Regions from separate parts of the Homo sapiens genome. Here region 2 is linked to region 1. The links are contacts of gene promoters, found by promoter capture Hi-C in human tissues and cell types (Jung and others, 2019). All regions are on one chromosome and are shown on one strand. Each heading gives the region's core, a stretch centred on a gene start or on the middle of the fragment in contact. The rest is flanking DNA. Distances are from core to core; before and after follow the strand shown.

Evidence for each region. The method cuts DNA at HindIII sites, captures the fragments that hold promoters and counts their contacts. A contact is called where the count stands out against the background at its distance.
Region 2: a contact is called between the fragment with the promoter of GJC1 here and the fragment with the promoter of C1QL1 in region 1, in 1 of the 25 tissues and cell types used here (thymus).

The regions. Positions count from the first base shown.
Region 1 is chr17:44,967,023-44,969,722 of GRCh38, reverse strand. It overlaps C1QL1 (complement C1q like 1), which reads left to right and starts at 1,420. Exons shown (of 2, transcript NM_006688.5): 1 at 1,420-2,271. The coding sequence starts at 1,675. RefSeq lists a silencer at 1,130-1,489. The HindIII fragment of the contact is 17,092 bases long and covers 1-2,700 here.
Region 2 is chr17:44,828,999-44,831,698 of GRCh38, reverse strand. GJC1 (gap junction protein gamma 1) reads left to right here and starts at 1,412. Exons shown (of 3, transcript NM_005497.4): 1 at 1,412-1,637. RefSeq lists enhancers at 1-780, 781-1,754 and a silencer at 1,810-2,099. The HindIII fragment of the contact is 21,747 bases long and covers 1-2,700 here.

The sequences.
Region 1 (2,700 bases), core at 171-2,670:
TCCCAGCCCTGGATGAGGTGAGCGACCTCAACCTTGGGTAGGGAAGGCCAGGGAATCATTTTGCCCATGGTGAAGGGTCAACAGGGAGAGTGTGAGCCGGCGGGGGGTAGCTCTCGGGAGAGGAGAGGCTGGGATGTCATTCTTTAGCAGCCGGCCAGTCGCCTCCGAATGGCTGAATCCTCCCCGGTGGGCCGGATAAAGGAGGGCGAAGGAGGAGCGGTGGAGCAGCCCGACCTGGGCCTCAGATAATGTGACAAATATTTTGATGGAAGCAGACACGTTTCGGTTTATGCAACCTAAACACTTTGCTGCACTTGAGGAAGAGGAGAGCCTCCCACAGCCTGATGGGGAGAAGAGTTAGGGGGCGGCGGAGGAGGCTGGGGAGTGAGGGAGGAGGAGCTGAGGGGCTGGATGAGATCCACCCCTCATCCTGGAGGCTGGAAAAGGGGGTTACCCCTCAGGGACGTATTTGCATCTGTCAGCATGGAGAAATAACGTGGGGGTGCCCACCTTTTTAGGATCCCCTTTTCTCCCTGGTCTAGAGGCAGAAGTAAAGGGATTGAGCAGAGGGAGATGGAAGAAAAGGGCCCAGGAAAAAGCAGCCTGGCCACAGTTCGGTGAGGAAGGGGCAGAGGCGAGGAGGGGTTGGAAGCTCCTGCCCCACCTCGGGGGAGACGGGTCCCGGAACAGTCAGATCCAGAAAGGAGGAGGCGGCTGCCGTCTGGCTCCGCTGGGCCCCCGGACAGGCATTCATCCGATATCTGGATCTCCCAGACGGGTGGTCTGCGAGGCCTGAGTGCCAAATGGTCCCCTCCGTATCCTCTTCTTCGCTTCATAACCCCCTTTCTCATCCTACCTTCCAGCTCCCCGCTCCGTCCTCCCCTCAATCGCTCTTTGTCCCCTGCAGACCTGGGCGCTATCCCCTCGCTTCCGCCCCCTGCGGGTCTTGGCCCGTCGCGACCCCAGTCCCTCTGTTTTCCTGGTGACCGACCCTCGAAGCCTCTCCTCTCCCGATCCCCTCGGAGCTCTCTAGCTCTCCCTGTGGCCCTCTCTCCCTTTCGCATTTTGGTCCCTACTCTCCCCTTCCCTTGGAGCGCCTCTCGGGTCTCTCGGACCCCGGCCCCCACCCCATTTCCGAATCTCGGTCTCCGCGTACTCAGTCTCTTCTTTCCTCTCCCTGCTCCCGCCCGGGGTCTCCGCGGCCCCGCCCCCTTATGCCCCGCCCACCTCGAGGCGCCCGCGGCCCAATTAGGCGCCGGCCCCGCCCGCAGCCCCACCCCTAGAGAGCCCAGAGCCGCGCGGAGCTGGCGGGGCGGGGCCCGGCCGAGGGGGCGGTGGCCCGGCTCAAGGAGGCGGGAGGAGTCAGGCGGGAGGCTGCAGGCGGGAGGCGGGAGGCGGGAGGCGGCGGCCGCGGCGCTCAGTCCGGCAGCGCAGCAGGAGGGAGGCGCGAGGCAGGAGCCGGCGGCTGGGCTCCGCAGCGCAGCCAGCGCAGCGCGGCGCCCCGGGCCCGGCCCCATGCCCGCAGCCCCGCCGGACCGTCCTTGAGCGCGGGCGCCTAGCCCGCGCCCCCTGCCCGCCGGCACCATTGCCCCGACGGCGCGGCCGGGCGGCCCGGCGCTCCCCAGGCTCCGCGCGGGCCGAAAGACGCTGCTAGCGGCCGCCGCGGGTGTGGTGATGCTGCTGGTGCTGGTGGTGCTCATCCCCGTGCTGGTGAGCTCGGGCGGCCCGGAAGGCCACTATGAGATGCTGGGCACCTGCCGCATGGTGTGCGACCCCTACCCCGCGCGGGGCCCCGGCGCCGGCGCGCGGACCGACGGCGGCGACGCCCTGAGCGAGCAGAGCGGCGCGCCCCCGCCTTCCACGCTGGTGCAGGGCCCCCAGGGGAAGCCGGGCCGCACCGGCAAGCCCGGCCCTCCGGGGCCTCCCGGGGACCCAGGTCCTCCCGGCCCTGTGGGGCCGCCGGGGGAGAAGGGTGAGCCAGGCAAGCCGGGCCCTCCGGGGCTGCCGGGCGCGGGGGGCAGCGGCGCCATCAGCACTGCCACCTACACCACGGTGCCGCGCGTGGCCTTCTACGCCGGCCTCAAGAACCCCCACGAGGGTTACGAGGTACTCAAGTTTGACGACGTGGTCACCAACCTAGGCAACAACTACGACGCGGCCAGCGGCAAGTTTACGTGCAACATTCCCGGCACCTACTTTTTCACCTACCATGTCCTCATGCGCGGCGGCGACGGCACCAGTATGTGGGCAGACCTCTGCAAGAATGGCCAGGTGGGCCAGGCGGGGGCATGGGGCTGGGCTGGGCCCAGGGCACCCAGGGAGCCCGGGGCAAATGGGTACCTGATCGGAGTTGGCGGGGGCGCCAGGCGGACGCAGGTGGAGATCCCACCCCACAGCGGCCCCGCTTGGTCATCACGTGTGGGGATGGTCGGAGCCAGCGGACATCGCCGATCCTCAGTTCCTGGGTTCCCGCTCCAAGACAGACGCTGCTGGGCACCGTCTGGAACGCTACTGGAAATGCGGGAAATGAACCCAACTAGTCAGAGCGCAGGGCTCCCAGGTGCACGGACTTGCCCTTGGGGGCTTGCCCCTTGGGAAGTGGATTCGGGCCGACAGCAGTGGGCGATAAGGGGAGGGCAAGGATGGGCTCTGGCGTATGGAACAGGGAGAAGCAGCATCCGCGCCCGCGGGCGCCTAGGC
Region 2 (2,700 bases), core at 163-2,662, 140 kb after region 1:
GGTGCGCGTCACCACACCCGGCTAATTTTTGTATTTTTTGTAGAGATGGGGGTTTTGCCATATTGTCCAGGCTGGTCTGGAACCCCAGGGCTCAAGCAATCCGCCTGCCTAGGCCTCCCAAAGTGCTGGAATTACAGGCGTGAGCCACCGCGCCCATCCCACACTTGTCATTTTAAATACATCTGTAGAGAGGCAATGTGATAAGGCGTGGGGACAGACTACAGCAATCACAGGGAGAAGTACTTAAATGCTCCGAGGCCAAGCAGGTCATGAAATGATTTAAGCAGCTGAGTGGGGACATTGCCTACCCGGACAAGGTGACTCAAGAGGAGCTGCCATGTGAAAAGAGAAGCTCAAAGTAAGCAGCTTTTGACTTTTTAGGGAGGCCAGAAATCTGGATTTTAATATTTTGGTAACTAATTCATATTTTTGGAAAACATACTGGCCACACAAAACTGGTCAGTGCATTAGATGCCTAGCCTTCAAGATTTCCACTCTGGGGCTACCCCTTAGGGCTTGGCTTTGGGTGGGGGAGTTTGACTTGCAGCAAGTAACCTCACTTGTTAGCGCTTAATTTCCCCTCTGGTCAAAAGGGCAAAATAATAAAAGCCTGTCCATCGGCATTCTGATGCTCAGATGAGATCATTCCAGAGGTCGCCCATCTCTTTACTGAGCCTTCCTTTATTACCCAAAGTCTTACTCTACTTAAAGCATTTGGAGAATTTTCGGTTTCCTACTGGGCATTTTAAAACTGGGGATTCCTATGCATGAAAATTTTTCCCAAGTCCTCTGAATGGGATCCTGCTGGGATGCAAAGAGTTAAGAGGAAATAGCCTATTAGGGTCTTGCTAATCCGAGAAGTTCAGGACCTGAAAAGTATCTAGAGCACTGCTAAGAGCCCCGACTCTAGCTAGATCCACGCAGGGCCCGCCAGATCCTCGAGGAATTGTAGAGCAGAACCTGGGAGGAGACATTAGCATCCCGTGCTACAATGGACCAAGGCCTCGGCGGAGCGCGCAGAAGACAACTCTGGGCCCGCTAAACCAACCCAGGATACCCAGGTAAGGCGAGAACCCACGGCGCCGTTAGCGGCCCGCTCAAACTGAGGCGCGGCTGGCGGGGGACTCTCGCCCGAAAATCAGCTTGGAAGAATGAACTGTCCGGAGCGAAGTCTGCGCCCACCCGGGGTCCAGACTCCACGCGGGTGACTCCCACGCGCGCCGCGCCTCCGCCGCGTCCCGGACTATCCGAGAGAGCGGCGAGGACTCGACCGCGGAAAGTTGGCGCTCGCGTCGCTTCCCGCGCGTTCTGGGGCGCCCCCCTCCCACTCGAGCGCCACGTGCCGCGCGCCCCCCGCTCCCGGGCCGCGGCGGGACGCCCCCGCCCCCACCGCAGCGCGCAGTGCGCAGGCGCCTTCCCGCGGGTCGCGGCGGCGGGAGCGGGAGGCGGCGGCGGCGGCGGCAGCGGCGGGAGCGGCTTCTGCCTCGGCTGGAGACTGAGGCGAAGGCGGCAGCGGCGGAGGAGGTGGAGGAGAGGCGAGGGTGAAGGCGATGGCGACGCGGGGCACATGAGGCCGCGACCGGCGGGACGGGCCGAGGCCCGGCGGAGGAGGCGGCTCCGGGGGAACCCGCCGCCGGGTGAGGGGCGGCCGCAGGGCCGGCTGAGGAGAAGCGGGCCAGGGGCGGGGTCCCAGGGGGAGGCGGGAGAACTCTTGGGGAGCCCGGGGAGGGGCCGAGGAGAACCTCCGGAGGTCCGGGGAGGAGCGCGGCCAGAGCGGGAGAAGGAGGGGGGCGCCGCCGAGGGGTTCCCGCCGAGTCCGGAGGGGCGTCGCCGGCCCGCGTCCTGCCACTGTCCCCGGCGCACCCTCCCTCTTTGTCCCCAGGCGCGCGGCTCCCAAATCGGGAGGGAAACGGCTCGGGGGTGTCCTGGGCCGCGGAGGTGTCGGGCGACGGTCGGGGAGCCCGGACAGAAGCGGCGCGCACTCGGCGGCGCCCCGGCGGTGCCGACAACTACCCGGGCGGTTAGGGGCGCAGGGCGGAGCCGGGCCGCCCCTCGCCGCCCGGGCTCTTCGCGGGCTGCTCTTTGTCTCCCCGACCTCGATCCCTGCGTCTCCGGCGGCGTGCGGGCTCGTCTGAGGCTTCCCGCATCTCCCCGCTGGAACTCCTGCCTCCCGGGGGTTAGAGGAGGGTTCGTTCGAGGGCTGGAAGCGGGAAAGCGGGGCGGAAGGACTGGGCTCATCGCCTCCTGATTAACTCGTTGTCTTTACTTAAAATGACTTTTCCCCCACTTTGTCAAACTTGAGAACTGTTTTGTGTGTGTGTGTGTTTCCTTAAGTCTCTAGCTTCAAAATTAAGAGTAGGCGCTACCGCTGTGATTGTGGGCAGTTGTGTGGTTGGCGGCTGCGTTTGGAGCTCTGAGTTGAAAAGATGTACGTGAATGTATGGTTTAGATTTTGTTCTTTTTTTTGCGATTGTCTGATTGGGAGTACTTTTCCTTTGCGAAATGGGCGAATTTGGTTTTCTTTTTGTTCATTGAGAACTGGCAGTGATACCGATTTCATTATGCTCATGCTTAATTTTGTTAGCATCAAGACGATGTGAAATCGAGTAAGTTAAGTTTGAATAAGTTCAGGCTGAGGGTCATCTTGTATGCCTGATAAGTCTAAATTTGTTATATGTTTGTGTCGTGTATACGTTCAAG